3 separate regions of the Homo sapiens genome follow, and all the other regions are linked to region 2. Evidence: promoter capture Hi-C in 16 types of primary human blood cells and fetal thymus (Javierre and others, 2016). All regions are on one chromosome and are shown on one strand. Each heading gives the region's core, a stretch centred on a gene start or on the middle of the fragment in contact. The rest is flanking DNA. Distances are from core to core; before and after follow the strand shown.

The links. The method cuts DNA at HindIII sites, captures the fragments that hold promoters and counts their contacts. A CHiCAGO score of 5 or more calls a contact.
Region 1: the fragment with the promoter of LAMTOR5 here is called in contact with the fragment with the promoter of UBL4B in region 2 in 8 of 17 cell types (naive CD8 T cells, erythroblasts, M0 macrophages and 5 more); the score reaches 7.9 in naive CD8 T cells.
Region 3: a fragment that was not itself captured here is called in contact with the fragment with the promoter of UBL4B in region 2 in 1 of 17 cell types (fetal thymus); the score reaches 5.3 in fetal thymus.

The regions. Positions count from the first base shown.
Region 1 is chr1:110,405,404-110,408,945 of GRCh38, reverse strand. It overlaps LAMTOR5 (late endosomal/lysosomal adaptor, MAPK and MTOR activator 5), which reads left to right and starts at 1,252. Exons shown (of 4, transcript NM_001382293.1): 1 at 1,252-1,360; 2 at 2,567-2,628. The coding sequence starts at 1,326. It overlaps LAMTOR5-AS1 (LAMTOR5 and SLC16A4 antisense RNA 1), which reads right to left and starts at 1,137. Exons shown (of 3, transcript NR_102697.1): 1 at 992-1,137. RefSeq lists an enhancer at 1,081-1,310. The HindIII fragment of the contact is 8,453 bases long and covers 1-3,542 here.
Region 2 is chr1:110,110,779-110,114,461 of GRCh38, reverse strand. It overlaps UBL4B (ubiquitin like 4B), which reads right to left and starts at 2,019. Exons shown (of 1, transcript NM_203412.2): 1 at 515-2,019. The coding sequence starts at 1,927. The coding sequence ends at 1,403. The HindIII fragment of the contact is 8,258 bases long and covers 1-3,683 here.
Region 3 is chr1:110,472,023-110,475,747 of GRCh38, reverse strand. LOC105378899 (a long non-coding RNA gene) reads left to right here and starts at 2,102. Exons shown (of 2, transcript XR_947699.2): 1 at 2,102-2,183; 2 at 2,888-3,206. LOC105378898 (a long non-coding RNA gene) reads right to left here and starts at 1,991. Exons shown (of 2, transcript XR_001738181.1): 1 at 1,954-1,991; 2 at 1,666-1,804. The HindIII fragment of the contact is 581 bases long and covers 2,008-2,588 here.

The DNA.
Region 1 (3,542 bases), core at 3-2,502, 300 kb before region 2:
CCTTAATCCACAATTAAGATACAGCTATAAAATGGAATATTTTGCAACTACTACAAAGGATGTAAGTGAAAACTTGACATGGAAAGACATTTATTCTAAACTCTGTAAAGAAGGCCAGCTACAGAATTGTACCTCCAGTATGTATGTCAATTTTGCTTACAAAACAAACAAAACAAAAAAAACCATGCTAGGCGTGGTGACTCAGCCTGTAATCACATTTTGGGAGGCTGGAGTGGGAGGATCTGTTGAAGCAAGGAGTTTAAGACCAGCCTGGACAACACAGCGAGACCCCCATCTCTACAAAAAAACGTAAAAATTAGCCAGACATGATGGCTCGAGGCTGTGGTCCTAGCCAGTCGAGAGGCTGAGAGGTGAGGATAGCTTGAACCCAGGACGTCCGGGTTGCAATGAGCTATAATCGTTCTACTGCACTACAGCCTGGGTAACAGAGCAAGACCCTGTCCCCCAAAAAATTTATTTTAAAAAGGCAAACGAAAAAACATTAAAAGTATACATTTACAAAGACAACTATCTGAAAGGATATTCTCCAAGAAGTTAAAAGTCGTCTTTGGACAGTGGGGCCATAGATGTTTTCCTATTTTTACCAGCTTTATAATTAATTTTTAAAAGTTATTTTCAAGTAGTCCTACCCAGTCTTCCTTACGAGTTAGGACTCAAATGCCACTCTCTTCCCCTAAACTGTCCTGAGTCCCCTCACCATAATAAGCACCAATGTCTTCGTTAAAATCCCGACACTGCCAACACTCAGCTAGGGGGTTGAACCTTGCTCCATCTCGTCCTTTAGTCTCTGTGTGCGTCTTTCCCCCTACAAGCCTACTGACCCCCTCCAAGAGGTCCCGTGTCTTCCCCGTACTTGCCCCACAGGCTAGATCAGACCCTGTCTGACCCCTGGGTTATTGTAAAACTTAAGATCTGTCCCCTAGGTCTCGGAGTCGGTTGAACTAGGGTCCAAAGGTTAAAAAACACTGACACAAAATGCCAGGCCACGAACTGAAGCACTGAGGCCCGGCTGCAGACCTCTCCCGAGAGGGGAATAATCCGTGCCGGCCGGTTCCGCCATGGAGCCAGGTGCAGGTCACCTCGACGGTCACCGCGCGGGGAGCCCAAGCCTTCGTCAGGCTCTGTGCGACGGAAGCGCAGTGATGTTTTCCAGTAAAGAACGCGGACGTTGCACCGTGATCAATTTTGTCCCTTTGGAGGCGCCGTTACGGTCCACGCCCCGCTCGCGTCAAGTGACTGAGGCCTGTGGTGGAGAAGGACGTGCCGTGCCGCTGGGTTCTGAGCCGGAGTGGTCGGTGGGTGGGATGGAGGCGACCTTGGAGCAGCACTTGGAAGACACGTGAGTAGTGCGCGCCTCTTCGGCCTGTCCTGAGGTCGCGGCGGAGGAACTTGAGCGGAACGAAAGGCGCGAGCTGCGAGTACCGGCCAGGGCGTCTCGGGGACGTCGCGCGACCCCCGGGACACGGGATGAGGGGGCTAAACTCTACCCAAGGCCGCAGGGCGGGGCGGGTGACCCGGAATTAAAATCCTGCCGGGCACCGCACATTCCCTCTTGAGCGAGTCTCCCGGGCCCAGGCCACGGGCCAAAACTGCCTATCTCGTTGTTGAAATCGTCTTTACGGTCAGGGTGGTTCTGCGGAAGTTTTAGAAAACGGGTTGACTTTTGGGAAGATTGTGCCAGTTGTGCAGTGTCGAGCCCTGCAGTGTAAACAAACACGTATCTCCTGTGTGTAACCTATCAGTTACTTGGTGCTTAAGTAGATAAAAATCATTCTTTAAATTTTTCGAACAAGCAGTATCTATGTAAAATTCAAAACTGGAAAAGTGTAAAGGGTACAGAGAGACACCTGCCTCCCACCGATGTCCCTCAGCTTCCACTTACCCTCCAGGAGGTAACTTGAGTTTTTCAACAGTTGTTTTAAATGAGTTAGTACTAAAACATGCGTTTTTAACAAGAGTGAAAACATCCTAGATGTTTTTCACGCAGTGTTTGTGGCCCTCCAGAACTCAGCAGTACTTAGCACATTTTTTTCTCTCATCAGAGAGAAACTGGTTTATTTCAATTAATTAACTAGAACTTAAATTTTTTGTGTTCTTTTTTTGAGACGGAATTTCGCTCGTCTTCCAGGCTGGAGTGCAATGGCGTGATCTCGGCTCACTGCAACCTCCGCCTCCCAGGTTCAAGCGATTCTCTTGCCTCAGCCTCCCGAGTAGCTGGGATTACAGTCATGCGCCACCACGCCTGGCTAATTTTGTATTTTTAGTAGAGACGGGGTTTCTCCATGTTGGTCAGGCTGGTCTTGAACTCCCGACCTCAGGTGATCCGCCCACCTGGGCCTCCCAAAGTGCTGGGATTACAGGCGTGAGCAACCGCGCCCGGCCCTAGAACTTAATTTTTTTCTTAGGGTGTGACAATGAAAAAAGATTGAGAAATATTGATTTAAAGCACTTAATGCCTGGTACATAGAACACCTGTATGTTTGTACTTATTTAAATCCTTTTTCTCCCATTATGTACTTCAACTCTCTTGTGTTCCTGGAATTAGAATGAAGAATCCCTCCATTGTTGGAGTCCTGTGCACAGATTCACAAGGACTTAATCTGGGTTGTAAGTATCTCTCATACCAACTATTTGATGAATTGCATAGCATCTGATGTTGACTTGGAGCCTAGCGTGCTATTATTTTCTAGCTTTTATTTCCTGTTACCTTGCCAGGTCTTTCTGAGTTTGAGAGTAGAGATTATCTCCAAATAACAGTATCAGAAAATTGAAACTTTTCAGTTGGTATTTATGAAGGAAGATGTTCCTTGCAGTCCTATAACAATAAATAGTTGTCTCTACTAAAAATAATATTTGAATCATTTTAAATTGAGTCTAGAAAGGACTTCAGATAATAACAGCTGTTAACCATTTATTGAATGTATGCCATATGCTGAGACTGCTAGGCTCTAAATACATTATCTTTAATTTTCACAACAACCCGGCAAGGTGGGTGGTGTACAATTTTGAAGCTCAACTACACTAAACAAGAAGTGAATAGGCAGTAAAATGGGATTTCAGTGTTGGACATACCTGGTCTCAATCCCTTGCTCTTTCATTTGTTAGTAGTGTGAACGTGGACCAAAAAACTACCTTTTAGGCCCTCATTTTCTTCACTGGGTTGTTATTTGATAATGGTAATAATCATAGAATTATATTTATTGAGCTGTTATGTGCCAAGCACCATTGTAAGTGCTTTACATATACTCTTTTATTCCTCATAACAACCCAGTGAGGTAGAAAAAGAAATTGAGGGACCAGGTGCAGTGTCTCACGCCTGTAATCCCAGCACTTTGGGAGACCAAGGTGGGCAGATCACTTGAGCCCAGGAGTTCAAGACCAGCCTGTGCAACACAGTGAGACCCCCCATCTCTATTTTTACAATAAACATATATATATGTTTTTAAAATTTAAAAAAAGAGGCCGGATGCGGTGGCTCACACCTGTGATCCCAGCACTTTGGGAGGCGGAGGCGGGTGGAT
Region 2 (3,683 bases), core at 770-3,269:
AGACATCCCTCCCAGTTGGACAGTCTTTGCCTCTAACCGTCACCAACACTCATGGGGTAAGTAGATGCTGTTATAAGGATGCCCATGCAACAGGTGGGAAACCTGAGCATCAGACAGGAAAAGCAGGTTACCCATGGCCACACAGCTGGACTCGGACTGGAAGAGAGGATGAGGGGCCCTGCAGGCCAAGGACAGGATGCTTCCTAGGGAAGGGGGCCCTGCTTGTTCAAGACATTCTCCTCCACCCCTTCCCTCCATCCCCATCACTCAGGACTGAAACTTTTGCAATAACAGCATTTCAGGGGCTTCAGCAGTGAATGGGGGACCACAGCTCCCCACTCCCTCCCACTCACACACAGAGTGTGGGGACTCCTCAGCCTCTGCAAGGGCCACTCTCTCACTCAAAGAACAGAGTAAAGGGCCTGGCTTTCCTCGTAGTCTGCAGGGGACTGGCCCCTCTATGCTGAACCCAGGGCCCCGTGAGGCCCCGTGCATTCAGTCACACACACTAGACTCTAGTTTCATGTCACCACTTTACTTTTCACATGTATAGCAGCTCTCTGCATCTAGGCTGCGTGCTCTGTGAGGGCAAGGATCCTCATTGACAGATACCATTTTTCCTTCCAGGGAGCCTTGGGCAGCGCTGGGCAGGTAATGTGAGCTGTGATACCTACTGACTGATCAGTCTGGGAGGGTGGGGCATGGCTCTGTTCACGCTGGCCACAGGGAGTGTATGACTTTGCTGAACTTTTTTTCTGCCTGAGGCTCAGTTTCCTGCTATTCTTGGTCTGTGTCTGTCTCCCTGAGGGCTCCAGGGCTGGCACCCGGTACGTGCCCTCCTCCCACTCTCACCTCTGCTGTGCCTGTCCCTTAAGCTGGAAGCACAAGCAGGAGAACAGCAGGGGCAGCCTCACCCAGAAGGCAAGGGGCAGCTACCTGACATTCCTCTCCTCTTGGCTGCTGGGGAGCCTAGGGGAGATGTCACGGTCTGAGGATGGAGGAAAATGAACTCACATTGTCTTTCTGTCCCGAAGGAGAAAGAGGGTCTGCCTAGAACCATGGAGACCCTGGGCCAGGGCTGCTTTCAGCCTGGGGAGCTGCTGGGTATGTGTGGGCAAAGCTGCCAGCACAGGAGGGGACTGTGGCCTTTGGGGCTGCCCTCCGGTGATCAGAACCCTTCTAGGGGAAGCATGGTGATGAGGGTTGGTTCACTCTGCATTTCAGAGGGAGGACCTCAGGCCCAAGAGGGGACAGGGATCCAAAAACCCTCCAGCTGCTTGGAAGGTTCAAAAAGGGGTGTGGACGCATCCACATCAGCAGGAAGTAGTAGGAAAAGTCACCAGGGAACACGTAAGGATGAGGCCGGGAGAATTTTAGCATGCAAATGGGTAGGATGGCCCGTTTACTGATCAGCTGCTGCCTCCTCCTTCTCCTCCATGTCACAGGAGCTCTGAGGCCGTGCCTTCGCCTCAAGCTCCCTCTCTCCAGCTGGCTCCACGTGAGGCTCCTCTGCCAGGAGGTACTGGGCCAGCTGCTCCAGGTGCTCCAGGCTTATCTTCTGCAGGCGCTCCTCGTGCTCCTGCCTTAGCAGCTGCAGCACGGCCTTGGCATCCTGTGGTTCAAAGTGTTTAGCTAGGACCAGTCCCAGCTGGTGCCACAGGGGCTGGGTCTGCGGCTGGTGGGCCTCCTTTAGCGCCATCTTCTCCAAGGGCTGCATGATGACATTGATAGAGGCATTGGGCCCAATGCAGTAGTCAGAGAGGTGCTTGTCATCCTCCAGGAGCTGGCCACGGAAAAGCAGGTGCTGCTGCTCCTCAGGCACCTTCAGCCGCCTGGACACCAGTCTCTTCAGCGTGGCTACACTCTCTTGCCCTGACACCTTCAGACTGCATCTCTGGCCCAGGAGCAGCTTGACTGTGAGGAACATCGGGCTGAGTGGAATCAGGAGGGATCCATGCTCTGGGAGCTGCCCTGAAGATTAGGGGGTCCTGCGGGAGATGTTGGCTTCTCCCTATCAACAAAGGGCTAGTAGTCCCAGGAGACCAGGGACCCAGCTTAGGCAGGCAGCCATTGGCTAGTGCACGGTGATGTCACAATGCTGCGGGGGGGCTCATTTCCAGAGTGGAACTTTTGGGACAGCAAAGGGGTATTTGGGCCCAGAGCATCCTTCCTCCACGAGAGGAGAAAAAGAGCACTAGGAAAGAAAATGTGGGACTGGGGGAAATGAGAGTGAGACTAGGGAAAGGGAGGGAGGGAAAGGACAGGGTGGTGGGAGGAGCATGTCTATTGATTTCTTCAACACATGTGTATTAGGTGCCACCTCTGTGCCAGCACCTGGACCTGGGGAGACAGTCATATTCAGATGGATGACTTCTGCCTTCATGACACTTTCACACTAGTGAGCTGGCTAGCATTTATCAAGCGTCCTCTTTCTGTCAAGCACTTTACACGCTCTTTTGGATTGGGCTTTCCAGCAGCAGACACTGAGACAGGGATTTGAGAACAAGTACTCAATTAGGAGGTGATCCCAGGAGGCACCAGGAGGGGAGTGAGGATGTGAGATGAGGACGGGAGGGAAATCAAAACGTGCATTCATGAGCAGGTTGCCATTGTGGGCAACTAGTATGTTATCCTGCTGGGGAGTTCTGGGAGGTTGCATGGAACACACCTGAGTTGCACCAGGTGTGGTTTTTTTGTTTTTTTTTTTGTTTTTTGAGACAGGGTCTCACTCTGTTGCCCAGGCTGGAGTGCAGTGGCATGATCTCGGCTCACTGCAACCTCCGTTTCCTGGGTTCAAGTAATTCTCCTGTGTCAGCCTCCCAAGTAACTGGGGCTACAGCTGCACGCCACCATGCCTGGCTAATTTTTGTATTTTTAGTAGAGATGGGTTTCTCCATGCTGCCCAGGCTGATCTCAAACTCCCAGACACAAGCAATCTGCCTGCTTTGGCCTCCCAAAGTGCTGAGGTTACAGGCGTGAGCCACCGCACCTGGCCGAACCTGCATCTTTATGCTCTGACTCCTGTCTTTGGCTAATAGAAGTGCTACCTCCTTGGCACTTCTGGTCCACAGGTGTTAAGCAGCATGCTCCTGTGACCACAGAAAAGTAGGAAGCCATCGGGCCCTCAGGAATGTGAGTGCTGAGGGGATGGGGCAGGACAGCCCACAGCATCTGCATCACAGGCCTGCCTAATTGAATCCTCTCAACCTATGAGGCAGGCACTGCCATGATCTCCATCTGCCAGAGGAGAAAGTGGAGGCTTGGCTGATCCTACAGCAAGCAGGCAGAATTGCTCTTGTCTTCACTGTTACCTCATGTTGCCTCCTAAACAAATCTCTGCTCAGTGCCTTTTGTGGCCCAGGCCCTGAGCAGGCACCCCCGGCTCAAAGGTGAATATGAAAAAGGACACTGATTGGGCCTCCTCTGTGTCTGCAACTTCTGCAGCATTTGGCAGTTTTCAGTGCAACACATTGCTGAAGGCCTTCTGGGTCAAGCCCTTTATATATGTTGTCACAATTTAGCCTGGGAGGAAAGTATTGTCTCATTTTAGAACTGAGCAACTTTGGAGAAGACCTGAATAACGTCTCGCAGCCAGTGGGCTGATTTTGTCAGGGATCCCCTCAACTCTCACCAGCTCTGTGCTCGACTGTGCCCTTCTTCTCACTCACCTTCTCCCTCCCTCC
Region 3 (3,725 bases), core at 1,049-3,548, 360 kb before region 2:
GTTCCTGAATGGGAAGGGAGAGGGGGATAGAAGGAAGGAGAAGAGGCAATTACCACAACTACCATGCAGGCCTCTGGGCAGGGAGGGCGGCACCCAGCAGACAGAAGCCCATAGGCTGGTCAACCAGGACCTCATCAGGCCACTCCCAGTTCAGGAGCCTTTACCAGCAGAGACCTGCAGACCAAGCTCCTGACCACCAGGAGTCTGGCCCCATCCACTTTCCCAGCCTCATCTCTGCAGCTTCCCAAACAGGAACCAGGCACAAACACTCACCATGCCTCAATCATGACATGCATGATCCTGTCTCCACACTCTGCTCAGTGCTTCATTGAGATTGGAACACCCTCCCCACCTCTCTCCATCTTGGAGAAACTTACCTAATACTTTTTGATGTGTTTCAACGTGACATGCAACTTCTCCCCTCACTGTGCTTTTACCTATGCTATACCTCTGCCCAAATGCCCTTCTCTCTATTTTCTGCCTACCCATCTTCTTCAAGATTCTGCTCAAAAGATATGTCCTATGGGCTGGGCATGGGCTCAGTGGCTCACATCTGTAATCCCAACAATTTGAGAGACTGAGGCAGGAGGATCACTTGAGCCCAGGAGTTCAAGACCAGCCTGAGAAATATAATGAGACCCCATCTCTGTTGTAAATAAATAAAGAAATAATTTTAGAAAATGATATGTCCTGTGTGAAGCCTTTTCTTATATCTCCTATGAGATCAATTAGGAATGGGTTTGGCTGCAAGTAATTGAAAATCTGACTACAGTGGTTTAAATAGCAGTTTATTTTTCTCACAAAACAAGAAGTCCAGAAAAATACAGAATTGGTTCAATGGACACCACTGCAATTCATTTGGCCTTTTCCTTATGGCTGCAAATGGCTGTTACAGCAGCAAACATCGCATCCCATCCCAAAGCAAGAAGAAGGGGAAGCGGGAAGAAGCAGTACCAGCAGACCGCTCATGCCTGATGAACTTCATTTTATAGCTCCCAGCTACAAGGTAGGCCGGAAAATTGAGGATTGCACTTTTTTGTCTGTATAGTGGAAGCAGACAATCAGGTTCTGTTGAGCCCACCCACATTGTCTGCAGTAACCACCCACTCCACCACCAGCGCAGTTTGCTCCTCGGTCTGGGATGTTCTCAGAGTGCTTATCTCACTGCTCAGTGATGGCTTACACATCAGCCTCCCTCTGGACTAAGAACTCTAGGGCAGGAATTTTGTCTGAATTTTCTCTGTAACTCTAAACACCTAGAACAATGCCTGACCTAAAATAAGCACTCAGTAAATGTTAAATTCATCCTCCCATTCACTCAACAGCTATATACAGAAGTAAGCAAATGAGGCCATGGGACTTCCTTCCCAAAAGAGGTCTCCAGTGGCTGAAATCAGGGAGTAAGTGCCCACGTGACCCACATATGGACAGTCAGTGGCCTGTGGCCCACCACAGCAACACCTCCTCCTCTGCCAATGAGGTCACCTGGCCCTTGTGCCAAGCACTGAGCATGTAGAGGTGAGTAAGCTCCTCTCCCTGCCCTCAGGGAGCTTGTAGTCCAGTGGAACACACAGACGTGTAGGCAACTAAGTATAATTCAATGCATGAGTCCTTTCCTTGGCTTACGGACCAGTGCTACTGGGGAAGGGAGAGTAGAGCACTCGCCTGTATGAGGAAAGGCAGGGAGCTTCATCCAGGGATGAGCTGGTATATTGATCATGTTCTCTGATTTTCCATATTCTTGATGCTCTGGCATCTGGGGCCTTGATCCTTGAGAGACTGCCCTCACAGGACTAGCTAATTCCTAGGCATGGCGAAAGACTCCCCTGTGAGCCTGTCTTTGATATACGAACCAACCCACCCACAGCCCACACCCCCAACCCTCTCCTTTATCAAACTCTCAAAAAGCAAGCCAATTTTCTCCCTGCCCTAAACCACCCCAGGGTCAAATACCACTCCTCCAGCCCAGAGTCCGCTGAAATTACTCAAACTATACAATTCTAAGCTTACTCAGAATACCTACCCTGTGTCACCCATTCCTTCATGTAATAATGCAATAAAGGCTCTATGTCACAATTTCCTTTCCCTTGACCACCCCAGACAACTCCCCCCCAACCTCCACCTCCTGACTGACCCCAGTGCTTCCCAATGTGGCCCTACATGCCTCCTATGTCTAGGGGTCTGTAAGTATAAACTTCTTCCTTCATGACAATCATGTCCATGTCTGCATGTCCTACCATACCTAATTAAAACAAACCCCAGGTATAAATTTCAGAACAGCTGGCTAGAAGGGATATAATGGGGCTAGTCCTGGGGAGCATCTAGCACATCCCTAGGCAGATCTAGCCGGGAAACTCAGCTGACAGGTGCTGCACTGATCAAGGTAACACTGAGATGCTGACTTAGATACAGAGTGAGAGATGAGATGACCCCTGGGAGATCCTCCTCCCCCTAGTCTGGACCCTCTTTGATGCTCCCAACTAGAGGACTAGACATCAGTTTCATGATGCTCCTGCCACTAACATTTCAAGCTAATTTGGGAAGTGGTGAGGAGAGATCCAGCTGCCCCCTCAGCAAAGCATCAAGCTTGATCACATAACAATGAATGTTGGCAAGCATGGCCACTGACCAGGCAGCATCCTAAGCCCTTTACATGTATAAAATCACTTCTTCCCAGCCACACACCACCACAATCCTGTAAATGAGGTACTATCTGTCTCATTTTAAGGGAACCGAAGCACAGATCAGTTCAATAACCTGCCCAAGATCACACAGTCAGTAAGGGGCAGGCCCAGGATTCAGACTCAGGTAGCATGACTCTAGAATGAGGGCCCTGGATGGTGACAACACAAAGCCGGAGCTGACACTTGCATTTTTGTTGCTACAGTGCCCAGCAGGCACCGTGGAGATGGGGGCAGATGTCTGGAAGCAGAGAAGGTGCCGAGTGGAAAGCAGGGGATGAAGGCTACTTTCCTCCTGGGCAGCCGCCGGCGGGACCAGGCAGGCTTTTCTCTCTCGCCCAGGGTGCGGTGTAGAGCCTCCACTGGACTCCACCACGGGGAGGAAGACCGAGGCTACCCAGCCTCCTGGCTGCTGGCCATGGCTCTAGCCCACCCTTGCCTGTGTGTCAAGAGAGAATCCAAAACAATGTTCCTTTTGCTGTAAAGGGCATGATTAGGACAATTGGCAAAATAGTCTACATCAGATGATAGTATTGTTCTGATATTAATTTCCTGACTTCGATATTTGTACCAATTTTCATGTTAATATTTACAAGAAAATGTCCTTGATTTGGGGGGAATACTGAAGTAAAGAGTATTATGTCAGGCCGGGCACAGTGGCTCACGCCTGTAATCCCAGCACTTTAGGAGGCTGAGGCAGGTGGATCACTTGAGGTCAGGAGTTCAAGGCCAGCCTGGCCAACATGGTGAAACCCGGTCTCTACTAAAAATACAAAATTAGCCAGGCGTGGTGGTGGGTGCCTGTAATCCCAGCTACTTGGAAGGCTGAGGCAGGAGAATTGATTGAACCCAGGAGGTGGAGGTTGCAGTGAGCCGAGATCGCGCCATTGCACTCCAGCCTGGACAACAAGAGCAAAACTTCGTCTCAAAAAAAAAAAGAGTATTATGTCTGCAACTTGCTTCCTAAAAGATCCAGGGGAAGAAAAACATACATATATGTTCTATATAATTTATATAGCTATGTGTTTTCTTTATACTTATGTA